4 separate regions of the Homo sapiens genome follow, and regions 2, 3 and 4 are each linked to region 1. The links are contacts of gene promoters, found by promoter capture Hi-C in human tissues and cell types (Jung and others, 2019). All regions are on one chromosome and are shown on one strand. The core of a region is centred on a gene start or on the middle of the fragment in contact, and the rest is flanking DNA. Distances in the headings are between cores, read along the strand shown.

What was found. The method cuts DNA at HindIII sites, captures the fragments that hold promoters and counts their contacts. A contact is called where the count stands out against the background at its distance.
Region 2: a contact is called between a fragment that was not itself captured here and the fragment with the promoter of AP3M2 in region 1, in 1 of the 25 tissues and cell types used here (neural progenitor cells).
Region 3: a fragment that was not itself captured here is called in contact with the fragment with the promoter of AP3M2 in region 1 in 1 of the 25 tissues and cell types used here (H1 embryonic stem cells).
Region 4: a contact is called between a fragment that was not itself captured here and the fragment with the promoter of AP3M2 in region 1, in 4 of the 25 tissues and cell types used here (dorsolateral prefrontal cortex, heart right ventricle, mesendoderm cells and 1 more).

What each region holds. Positions count from the first base shown.
Region 1 is chr8:42,151,508-42,154,551 of GRCh38, reverse strand. AP3M2 (adaptor related protein complex 3 subunit mu 2) reads right to left here and starts at 1,489. Exons shown (of 9, transcript NM_006803.4): 1 at 1,447-1,489. RefSeq lists a silencer at 974-1,583 and an enhancer at 2,414-2,533. The HindIII fragment of the contact is 9,480 bases long and covers 1-3,044 here.
Region 2 is chr8:41,816,280-41,819,323 of GRCh38, reverse strand. It overlaps a transcript of ANK1 not described here. Among named protein-coding and RNA genes, the nearest start is that of ANK1, 20 kb to the right of the region's middle. RefSeq lists enhancers at 1-646, 1-952. The HindIII fragment of the contact is 8,264 bases long and covers 1-3,044 here.
Region 3 is chr8:42,457,317-42,460,360 of GRCh38, reverse strand. SLC20A2 (solute carrier family 20 member 2) reads left to right here. Exons shown (of 11, transcript NM_001257180.2): 5 at 369-465. Among named protein-coding and RNA genes, the nearest start is that of SLC20A2, 42 kb to the left of the region's middle. The HindIII fragment of the contact is 6,800 bases long and covers 1-3,044 here.
Region 4 is chr8:41,888,674-41,891,717 of GRCh38, reverse strand. It overlaps a transcript of ANK1 not described here. Among named protein-coding and RNA genes, the nearest start is that of ANK1, 93 kb to the right of the region's middle. The HindIII fragment of the contact is 3,254 bases long and covers 1-3,044 here.

The DNA.
Region 1 (3,044 bases), core at 240-2,739:
CAGTCCAAGACTTACCCATCTTTCAAGACCAGGCCCAATCTTCCCCTCCTGCATGAGCCTGAAGATAGCCCTCCCTTGAATTCGAAACGATAATGATCAGTCATCTGACTGTCAATCATATACTCCCAGTTATCTTTACTATCGCCCAAATTGCATCCATTTAAAATACTACTTATCTGTGGGTGTCTATTTTCTCAACCGAACCGCAAACTCCTTGAAGAAAAGGGCCGTGCCTCATGTTTTGCGTTGCCTGACTGCAACACAATCAGTGTTCTTTGAAGAGGGCTTCCAAGAACACTGAATTTGATGTCATGTTTTGGCAACAGCTCACACATACACAAGAAATGCGCAGCTTAATACGATAGCCACTATGGGACCAGCGAGCACTTGAAAGGTGGCTGGTGCGGACTGAGGTGTGCTGTTAAGTGTAAGACACACGACAAATCTGAAAGGCTTTGCATGAAAAAAAAAATTTCAAATATCTTACCAATAATTTAATATTGATTATATGTTGTAATAACATTTTGGATATCCTGGGTTAAATCAAATATATTAAAATTAATTTAACCTGTTTTATTATTTTAAAGTGGTTACCAGAACATGTACAATTACATATGTGGTTTGCTTTCTATTTCTGCCCACCAGAATTGGTGGGAGGAATGGAAAGCTGCCCTTGGGGGTCTTTATTCATCCAATCAGAGCTATTCTCTGAGCACTCCTTAGGCACTTGTTAATGCAGTAAGACATTTAAAAAGATCCCTTGGGGCTCCCGCCTGTGATCCCAGTACTTAGGGAGGCCTCCGCGGGCAGACCGCTGGAGCTCACGAGTTCGAGATCAGCCCGGGCAACAGAGGGAGAACCCCGCCCCCTCCACCTCCAAAAAAAAAAAAAAATTTCCCTGGGGGACAGACACCCCAAGGCCCTCAGACGGTTGCATCTCTCTGGTGCCAGTCGCCAGGATGTGGCCATTCCGCGAACCGGCGCGGGTGGTCAAAACGCAGAGGCCTGCGGTGCCCAGCGCCGCCTGGAGGAGACAGCAGGAGGGAGAGACAGCCAGGCAGCCCGGGGTGCGAGGGAGAGGCAGCGGCCTAGGCAGGCGGTCCCTGCGCAGGCCCCGGCCCAGAGCCGGCGGCGACGGAGGCCGCGGGGCGCAGGCGGGCAGGGGCCTGGCTGAAGGGGCACGCGCGTTCCGGGGTGAAGAGCGCAGGGGTGCCGGGCCGCGCCAGCGAGCGCACGTGCGCTGCCATGGCAACAGTGTCCCCTCCGCCCGCAGCCGCGGCGCCGGGAAGGACGCCCTCCCCGAACTCTGAACCCGGCCCCTCACCTCTCCCCGCCGCGTCCGCAGCCCTGAGAGGCCGCCCGGCTGCATCCTGAGACCCCGCCCCGACCCTCGCGCGCCCCCACTCCTGCCCCCTCTCCAGGCTCGGGGTCGTCCCTACTCCTCACCTGGCCTTGCTGCTCTCAGCGCCCACTGCTCCTAGGCGCGGACAGGCCCCGCCCCGCCCGCCGCGCGCGCTGAGGCAGCCGCTCGCCCGCTGATTGGCCGGCCCGCGGCCTGGCTACCGCTCCGCCCACGATCTGCGCCTGAAGGCCGCTGATTGGGTATCTGGGAGCCGCTCCTCCCCTCTGATTGATCGCTGTTGGCGGCTTGCCCTGTTGTCGGGCTCGAGTCCCCCGATTGGCCCTGTTGAGGCCACGGTCATCTCCGATTGGTACAGCTCCGAGACCCCGAGTCCTGATTGGAGGTCGAAGACAGTGCGTGCTGCTCGGCCCCACTCATCCAGTCACAAAGGGCTGGGGCGGTCGCCGCGCTCGCGTGTTTGCGGAGTGCGCCTGGAGGGGGCGCTGGAGTATGTGTGTGCCGGGGCGGGGTGGCTTCCGGGCACGAGTTGCTGACAGCGCCTCGCGGTTGATAAATCCTGAGGGCGGCGGCTACCCTGCACTCCATCGGTGCCTTTGGGAAGCGCCGCCTTCTCTGTTGTACCCGGCCGTGGGTCAGGTCGGCGCGGCTGGCGGTGGAGTCTCGGACACCGAGCCCTGGACCCCGACTCTGGAAGCCCCCAGCCCCACTGGGCCGCGGCAGGGCGCCCACCCTCCACAATCTCAGTTCCCAGCCGGGGAGTGAGGGGCTGGGCGGGTCTCTCCACCGCTTTGGAGACCTCAGGACTTGGATACGCTTTTGAGTGGTCCCAGTCGTCCTGATCCACGAAGGCGTGGAGTGGAAGTCAGGACCAGGGGTCGCCCCAGTGACGCAGGAAGTCAAGCCCAGATGCGGTGAGGCGTCGCCAGCCTTGGACCCAGCAGTGGGCGCTGGTGACAGTGGCGACCTCGCCGATGAGAGGTTCGCCCTCCCTAGCATTAGTTGTCACTTTGGTGAAATGGAGCGTGGGTGGCAGCTCCTCCACACACAAGCCCTTTGCTGAGGTGGTGCGGGGGGTTCTCTCCACGCTTGCTAAGGGCAGGTAGTTGGCTGACTTTGAACTATGAAGAAAAGCCAGAAACAAAATGGCAGAATGGTATGACTCTGGGTGGGCTTAGGGACGCTGGTGCCAGAGGACTTGGCTTGAACCCGCTCCAACACTTACAACCTGAGTGACCGTGAGAAAGAACTGTAACTCCTCTAAACTTCAAGTTCCTCACTTCTCAAATAAGAACGTGAATAGTACCTCCCTCCTAGAGTTGTGAGGATTGAGTTAGAAAATGCTAGCAATTGTTATGCCCTAAGGAACAGCACAAGATACAATAACACGTGATAATGTGTGTCGAAGGTGCAGAAATGCAGTCGCTGCCGTGAGAATTTCTCATTCATTCACTGAATTAACATTTGCCGAAAACCCCCACGTATCGACCTGTGCTGGATGCTGGAGATGCTGCAATGACTGCTGTCACAGGCATTGTCCCTGTGGTTACAGGGCCCAGCAGGAAAGACAAATGAGAAGCAAGGGATTGCAATGCAGTGTGATGAATAAGGAACGCATAGGGGGTGGGAGGAGTGCTGTAGAGATGGCTGACCTAGAGTCAGGGAAGACCCTCTACCTTGAAAC
Region 2 (3,044 bases), core at 319-2,818, 340 kb after region 1:
CTCAGCCTGTAATCCTAGTGTTACAGTCTCGACAGTGCACCACAGTGTAGCAGTCTCTCATTGCCTGAGGTAGTACCTGAAGTCCTTTGTCTCCCGACCAAGAAATTTAAGAAGCGTGGACACCGAGGGTGAGGTTGGAGCAAAAGTTTAACAAATGAAAGAAGAAAGCTCTCTGCTGTGGAGAGGGGACCCAGAAGAGGGTTGCTGTTTTTACAGTTGAATGCAAAGGCTTATTTATGAGAAACCAGTGAGGTCTGGGCATCAATGAGGCTGGTAGATCTACCCTGTCCTTCTAGTGTGCATGCGGGCCCTTAGCTTGAGTTACTCCATATTGCTTTGTTACCTTTACTGTGCATATGTTAGGGAACAGAATTTTCCATTGCCGGCATGTCTGGGCAAGTTACCTGTGTAGGCTTTCTTATCTGTGCAGCTGTGGGCGTGTCTTAGGCAAGCCCCGCTGTGCACAATCCCTTATCTGTGCCTGTGGACTGTTCTTTTGTTTGAAAGAATTCAACCAAGGACACACTTTAATTGCCTGCCTGACCAGGTTTTTTCCATTCTCCTCTCTCACTAGCATTTAGGGAGGCAGAGGCAGGAGGATTGCTGAAACCCACGAGTTCAAGACCAGCCTGGGCAATATAGTGAGAAAGGAAAAAGAAGAAAGAAGGAAAGAAAGAAAGAAAGAAGAAAGAAAAAGAGAGAGAGAAAGAAAGGGAAAGAGAAGGAAAGAAAGAAAGAAAGAAAGAAAGACTTATTGGTTTGAGTCACTACCTCTGGGATAAATAAATTGGCTATATTTGAAAAAATTTTTAGAGAGCTCACATCCTAAACAACTGTATTACTGATACCTATGGTATAATCCAACTGAAAAGAAGACATAATGGATTTAATGATTAGCTTTAGGGCCCCTTTAGCAAGATTAAAAGCAGAAATCAAGTTTAGAACCAAGTTAAAATTGTTTAAATTTGGCCTAAATTCCTCTTCTGTGCTCTCTTATATCCACAACTCCCTGGTCCTGACCCTCTGGAAGAACTCTGGAGCTCTGGGCCCCTGATTTAAAACTTTACTCCTCCAAATCTCCATTTTCTCAGTAAATTCCATTAGCTCAGGCGGGAAACATTTGTAGGAATGGGTTTGAATTGAGTCTTGGTGTTGGGGTACCCATTAGTTATTAACCCTTTCCCTCCCGTGGATAGTTATTGCTTTCCTATACGTCTTCTTTTATTTTTTCTTCCCCAAGAACTTTGTTTGACTTTGCAGCCAGCGGGGGCACGTGGGTTATTGGGCCTGTATGTGCAGGTGGCCATCCAAAAGGTTGGAAATCTCCAAGAATGTGGCCGGACAGAAACATGGGTGCAGCCCATTGGCAGCTGGCACACCAACTCTTGCCACTTCTCAGGAGCATCGTCTCAGGGTTTCTCTCCGTGGCTGTCTTTGGGAGTGGCCCTGGATTGTGAAAGGGCTGCATCTTTTTTGTCTCTCTTTGGAGATGCCTCATGCATTCATGGTTCAGTGGTGAAAAGCATGTTTGTTTTGGTCTTGAGTCACTTGTTAGGTATATCTTCGGTTTAGAGCTTTGGTTTATATAAAGCATGATAGGAATTTTTTCCTTTAGCTCTTCCCTCCTAAGCTAAAATGGAACTGTGTACTCAGAAAGAAAGAAAACAGTTTATTAAAACTTTTCTAGACAAATAGCTCTAACTCTAGAACAGAGGAATATTTTGGTTTCCATCCTAGTTGGAAATCTGCTTCTTGATATAAAGGAGCAAACTGAAGATCGGATGGATGGGTCAGCACCTTGACATTCAGGCTGCAACCCAGTTCTTAGGGGAATTAAAAACAACTGTCCTCGTCTTACACATTGAGGCTTTATCACAGCAGGAATGTGCCTCTGGAAGCAATTCAAAGCCCACCTAGCCTTCTTACCAGTACCCAAACCTCACCTGTTCATCTCAAGATGTTTGCAAAAACTTCAGCAAATCAGAACACTGGAAACAAAAGTGTCTTGCATTTAAGAAAAAGAAGGAAAAGTTTTAATAGATTTATCCTAGACTTCTGATAATAGGCAAATGTGCCCCCCAAAACTCCTTCCTGTTGAAAACTTGAATTCTTTCTCTGTGCTTTTGAGATGTAAATTTTCTAACCTGTCTTATCTAAGATCTTATCAAGATCCTTCTTGAAGTGCAAACTTCAGGGAGATGATTCTCAGGTTAAAAAGAAAAAAAAAAAAGAAACTATTTGGAAACTGGCAAATGACAAGTCTTGAGTACAAAAGCATGAGCCACCTGAGCAGGGAAACTTCACTGGTCCCATTTGCCAGATCCAGCTATTCTCTTATAAGTGAGTTTTGAATTATTGTATCTGGCACATGGTTAAAATTTAGTAAGATCTGTTTCTATCTATATGGTTATGTATGTCTAAGTATGTATGTATGTCATGTAATGTGATATTTTCTATCTCTGGATAAGGTCTATTTAATTGGCTTAAAGAAAAATAAGTGTTTATAAAAATTGTTCTCTCAGAAAAAGAGAAATTAACCAAAGTGCTTTTCAACTTCATGTAACCGATAAAATTTGGTAAATAAGAATATTATTGGCCAGACCTGGTGGCTCATGCCTGTAATCCCAACACTTTGGGACGCTTAGGTGGGAGGACTGCTTGAGGTCAGAAGGGCAAGACCAGCCTGGGCAACATAGCAAGAACCCTGTGTCTACAAAAAATAAAAAATTAGCTGGGTGGGGTGGTGCATCCCAGCTACTTGGGAGGCTGAGGTGGGAGGATCCCTTGAGCCCAGAAGTTCGAGGTTGTAGTGAGCTATGATTGCACCACTGCACTCCAGCCTGGGTGACAGAGCAAGACCTTATCTCTAAATAAGAAAAAAAAGAATATTATTTGTTTAATTAAAACAGGCAAGTCTTCAGAATTGTTAGCATTAAATATAATGCAACCAAATTTTCATCTCTTAGATGTTTAAAATCGTAAGACTATGGGTTCAACCTAAGAGCAACTGTGCAAGTAAAACTGCAGTGTCCATTACTGTGTGT
Region 3 (3,044 bases), core at 313-2,812, 310 kb before region 1:
GAGCACTATGGGTTTTGAGGAAGGAGATGCTGAGCTCTGGGCTTTGGTCCTCCGGAACCGGCTTGACCCAACAGATCTTTTCTGTTTCCAAGTCTGACATCAGCTCATGTGATTCCAGGGCTTTAATGTGTCTGCTGGCCACAACAGTGGGCTCTTTGACATTGCATTTGTGTGGGAGAGATGGCCCCAGCCAATGCCATTTCTGCAGAAGTGGAGCAGATCACAGGCAGTGACAACGCCCATCCTTTTGGCCACACTGGGGTTTGGGAAGAGTTTCTTGTAACAGTATTTTGTATCATTTTGTCTGTGTTGGCTCCAAATGCTGCTGGGATCCTGACCTTCCACTCTGTCTCCTTGTCTTCCTACAGGAAGACCCTGTTCCCAATGGCCTCCGGGCACTCCCAGTATTCTATGCTGCTACCATAGCAATCAATGTCTTTTCCATCATGTACACAGGAGCACCAGGTAAGGATCCCTTGGAAGCATACTCCAGGGGCAAAGTGCATTGTATTCTAACAGTATCAGTTTATTTGGTGCTGGTATTGTTGGCTGACAGTAAAAAGCATTACTCATGGTCATTATGGAATAGGTGCTGGAGTTGTTGGCTGATAGTAAAATGCGTTACTCATGGTCATTATAGAATAGTAAAAAGAGTGGTAAATGCATTTACTTGTCTTAATTAAATACCCAAGAGATATGTAGAGTACAAAGGCAACAGACTTTCAAGTTAGAAAAAAAAATTAAATCCCCACTCTGCCATTTACGCAGCTGTGTTGCCACTATAGCTTAGCCTCTCTGAGCCTCAGAACCTGATCTAATCCCACAGGCCTACAGGGTTGTGCAGGGGTCAGGAGAGGGTGTGGAGCACCTGGGGCCATGCCTGGCACCCAGTGAGCGGGACAGTCCACACATCAGCAATGCCCAGCGGAGCTCTAAAGCCGTTCACAGCACAGAGTACAGACCCCTGGAAATATCAGACCAGTTTATCCAGAGACTAGAAGCCATGCTTTGTTTTTTTAGATACCGAAGCCAATGATGATTTTCTTTGCTGAATTACTCCTTTCCTTGTCATTCTCATGGATTTTGTTGTTATTTTTTATGTTTTTTTTTTTTTTTTTTTTTTTTGAGATAGAGTCTCACTCTCTCACCCAGGATGGAGTGCAATCGCGCTATCTTGGAAAACTGCAACCTCCGCCTCCCAGGTTCAAGCGATTCTCCTGCCTCAGCCTCCTTAGTAGCTGGGATTACAGGAGCACACCACAGGTTTTCACTATGTTGGCCAGGCTGGTCTCGAACTCCTGACCTTGTGATCCGCCTGCCTCGACCTCCCAAAGTGCTGGGATTACAGGCGTGAGCCACTGCGCCTGGCCGCTTTTGTTCTTTTGTATAAAGGTTCAGAGGTTTTTTGTGGGGGGGGGGGTTAAAAATTATTTTTTATTTTATTTTATTTTTGAGACAGAGGCTCGCTCTGTTGCCCAGGCTGGAGTGCAGTGGCGCTATCTTGGCTCACTGCAAGCTCCGCCTCCTGGGTTCATGCCATTCTCCTGCCTCAGCCTCCCGAGTAGCTGGGACTACAGGCGCCCTCCTCCTCGCCCAGCTAATTTTTTGTATTTTTAGTAGAGACAGGGGTTTCACCATATTAGCCAGGATGGTCTCAGTCTCCTGACCTCATGATCCGCCCCACCTTGGCCTCCCAAAGTGCTGGGATTACAGGCATGAGCCACCATGCCCGGCCTTTTTTTTTTTTTTTTTCTTTATTGCCCAGGCTGGAATGCAGTGGTGCAATCATAGCCCACTGCAGCCTTGACCTCATGGGCCCAAGCAATCCTCCCACCTCAGCCCCCTGAGTAGCCGGAACCACAGGTGTGTGCCACCACACCCAGCTAATTTTTTATTTTTTGTAGAGATGGGGTCTCTATATTGCCCAGGCTGGTATCAAACTCCTGGCCTCAAGTAATCCTCCTGCCTCAGCTTCCCAAAGTGCTGGGATTACAGGTGTGAGCCCTACTGCACCTGGCCTAATTCTTTTCTTTTAGACCTTGAATAGGAAAATGAATAAGCTTATGTATGGTATTCTTGTTTGCACCCATTTCAGCACTGATGAGCTAGTAGCATTCTGTTAAACATTTCTGTACATGTTTGCTAGAGAATATTCCTCTTCTGTTTGTGAGATGCGCCTCCTACAGCCAGACTGTGGGATCTGTGACATCAACAGATGTGTTAGTTTGTGCTGGTTTTCATCTTCTTAATGTCTGTTATGGATGAAGATTTGGTTATTGGCCATGTTGACAGAAAAGGCTCCCTCTCTGTGTTTTAAAGATGAAATTTCTGCTAAATGACATGTCCTATCATAATCGAAAAGCGCCCTCTTCCAAAATAGTGGAAATCCTTATTACTTTCTCAAACTAGGAGTTCTCAATGTAATGTTCCTCAGATTTTATTAAGAATATCTAATTATATTTTATATGTTTCAGTACTGGGAATAAAGTATTCCTAAATGATTCTAACATTATATAACCTTTTACTGTGGTATCTGTGTAGTGTTCAGAACATTGATCTTAAAGGCTTAAATACTCAGCCGGGCGCAGTGGCTCATGCCTGTAATCCCAACACTTTGGGAGGCCGAGGTGGGTGGATCACAAGGTCAAGAGATCAAGACCATCCTGGCCAACCTGGTGAAACCCCGTCTCTACTAAAAATACAAAAATTAGCTGGGCGTGATGGTGCGCGCCTGTAGTCCCAGCTACTCAGGAGGCTGAGGCAGGATAATTGCTTGAACCTGAACCCAGGAGGTGGAGGTTGCAGTGAGCCAAGCTTGCGCCACTGCCCTCCAGCCTGGGTGACACAGCGAGACTTTGTCTCAAAAAAAAAAAAAAAGTTTAAATACTCACTGTGGGGCTTCCAGACTTTGGGTGATTTGCGGATGAAGGAAAGGGGAGTGCCAGAGCTGCTTTAGGTTCTAGGAAAGCAGGAAGCAAAGTTAGATTGATGAGGAGAGTGGGAGGAAGGTGAAATCCCAGTCACAGGTAACAGCAGCCTGCTGC
Region 4 (3,044 bases), core at 196-2,695, 260 kb after region 1:
CTGAAGATGTGGGAATTTTCCCAGCCTGCCTCCTGTCCATTTTTTCAGTTCAGCTCCTCCCTCCCTGCTGCAGAGGTAGCAGTGGTGGGGGCTGTTCCCAGGATCTCTCCTCACTTCCCAGCCATAGGCTAGACCAGGAGAGCAGGGTCTTGAGGGCTGAGAAGATGTTACACTCTGAATTTTGGCTGCTGCTCCACCTCTGTGAAGGGTGACTGTGAGGAGCAAGTGATGTGCAAACCATCTAGTGCTGGACTGTCTCAGAGCAGGTGCAGCAGCAGCTGAAATTCAGAGCCTGGAGCAAGTCACCTCCCTGGGCAGGGGACACGAGCTGGCCTCCAGTGTCTCCCCGTTTCTTTTGCTCACCCCAGCAAAGGCTGCTGGCTCACCAGTTCTGCTCCTCTCCTCTCAATGTGGCAACACTTAAAAAAAAAAAACAAACTCATCTGAGGTTTCTTCCCTATTTTCACAATAAAAATGAGCACGTAGTGGCGAGTGTGTCCTATGTACAGGCGCTCTTCATCGGTGTTAGCTTGCCCCTGTGTCTGCTTTGGCAACACCTTTGAATAGGTGATCCTGTTATTGATTCCTTCCTCCTTCAATGTCAAAGCCCAACACTGTCGCCTGCAAGAAACCTTTCATATCTGTCCCCTCCTTACCCCCACCCCATTGCTCTCTCTGCACCTTCCACGCATACACACATGCACATGCAGAAGTTCTTGTTTTATCTCTTCTACTAAATTGTAAGCACTTTGAAGCCAACACTTGAGCCTTTGTACATAACCATTCACTAGATATCTATGGCTTGAATTGGTTGAAAAGCTACATTTAACTAGTACAGGTTTTTTTTCTTAGTTGTTCTTTTTGATTTTGAGAGAGTTGGCCCTAAAGAATTGGTACCAAGTAAATCTATTGTTTCCCCCACCTTGAATTCTTCTGACTGAAATAAAATCTATTGTCACTGTTTTTTTCTTCTTTTCTTTTTTTCTTTTTTCTTTTTTTTTTTTTTTTTGAGACGGAGTCTCGCTCTGTCACCCAGGCTGGAGTATAGTGCTACAACCTCAGCTCACTGCAACCTCCGCCTCCTGGGTTCAGGTGATTCTCCTGCCTCAGCCTCCAGAGTAGCTGGGACTACAGGCGCGTGTCACCATGCCTGGCTAATTTTTGTGTTTTTAGTAGAGACGGCATTTCACCATGTTGGCCAGGCTGGTCTCGAACTCCTGACCTCAAGTGATCCGCCTGCCTCGGCCTCCCAAAGTGCTGGGATTACAGGCTTGAGCCATTGTGCCCCCACCCAGCCAGTGTTTGTTTTTTTGAGAAAGGCAGATCAACTTTGCCTGGCTCTCTATCTCCATTTCTGGTTCTTGAGAAGCTCAAAACTCCACCTCCTACAGAACACTGGCATGGAGTCGGCTGCCCAGGTTCCAGTTTGAGCTCTTGCATGTATCAGCTACGTGTGCATGAACAAGCCTCTGAATTTCCTCCAGCCTCAGTTTTCTCATCTGTAAAATAGGGATGAAGATCAAATGAGATAATAAATGAGAATGTGCTTTGTAAATTTTAAAACTCCCATATATTTAATGGAGTATAGCTAATAAAATAATGATTGTTCATAAAGTTATTCTTTCTAATAAATCCTTTACCAAAGTTCATTCCTGGCCTTCCAATGGTATTGTGAAGTCTTGAGGTTTGCCGGGGAAGGCCAGCTTGTTATTCTTTCAGTACTGGGAAATGAGAAAAGGATACTTTAAATCATATCTTCATTTCATTTTCAGGAAAAAAAATGAATTTTCTATTTGGACAGGATTTTTATTGCAGACCTGCGCAGTAATCTGCATGGGTTCGTCAATAACTTCCAGGTGGGCTTAGATACTTGCAAGCTTTATTGAAGTCTTGTGTGGCACCAGTGCTGTATATCAGAGGGGAACATAAAAGGGCTTCCTAACTTTGCTGAGACTCCTATGGCTGTTAGATCCACAGGTAGTAAATCTGGGTGTGAACTGTCACAGATAATGGAATGTGTGGTGTTGTGGGGAGACCGGATTCCTCTGGCGGAGACTCTCTGGATCTTGGGTGCACAAAGCACAGCACATTCTCCAAGAAAGGAAAACTTGCATTGGAGACACTCAAAGTGAAAGCAAAGATGTAATGGCCAGCCAATTAAAAAAAGAGAGCACCATTCTTTCCTTCTCATTTGCTTCCAATGTGACTGGACTCTTCTTCTCAAAGATTTCCCTGTGTTTTTACCAAGGAAATAGTACATGTCCAATTGCTTTTGCATCCATTGGCGAGCATTGACAATGATATTTGCAAAAAAACTTCTTTCTTTATCAAGGGAGGTGCCTGCACTTATGAGGGTCTCCAGTGTTCCTCGTGCATGACATGCATTGTCACACTCTGTCGCCCAATAGGTTGATAACCCCAGAACTGGGCTCCAACCCAGATGCACCTGACTCCAAAGCTTATTAACAGCCCACAGCACTAGGCTACTTCCCCCAGGTATTGGTTGTGCCCTTAGGATATTCAAAGCTATGCTAGGCACTGAGAGAAGAGTCAAAGCTGAAGCTATCTTTCCTTCCCTGTCTGGGCACAGTGACTCATGCCAGTAATCCCACCACTTTGGGAGCCGAGATGGGAGGATCACTTAAGGCTAGGAGTTCAAGACCAACCTGGGCAACATGGTGAGACCCAGTCTCCACAAAAAATTTAAAAACTGAAGATAGTTTTCCTTCTTTGAAGTGAAGGACTTATAAATTAGTGGGAAAGCTGCCAGAGTTGGAAGTAACCTCAGGCAGAGGATGGAGAGCTTAGGGCAAAGCCTGTGGCCTCCGGTTCCAGTGGGAATGTGGGTGTCCGAGGCCCCTCAGAATGTCTTGGAGCTGAGGACTCCGTCGCCGGGCCCTGAGGTTAACACAGAGTGCAAATGAAAGAGCAGGTGAAAACGGAGTCCTGGGGTTTCTGCTTTGTTTCTGGCTAGTCTGTCTCTTAACAGGTTAACTTTCCCCTTAACTTCAGTTTGGAGATTCTCTGTTCACCACATCATCAAG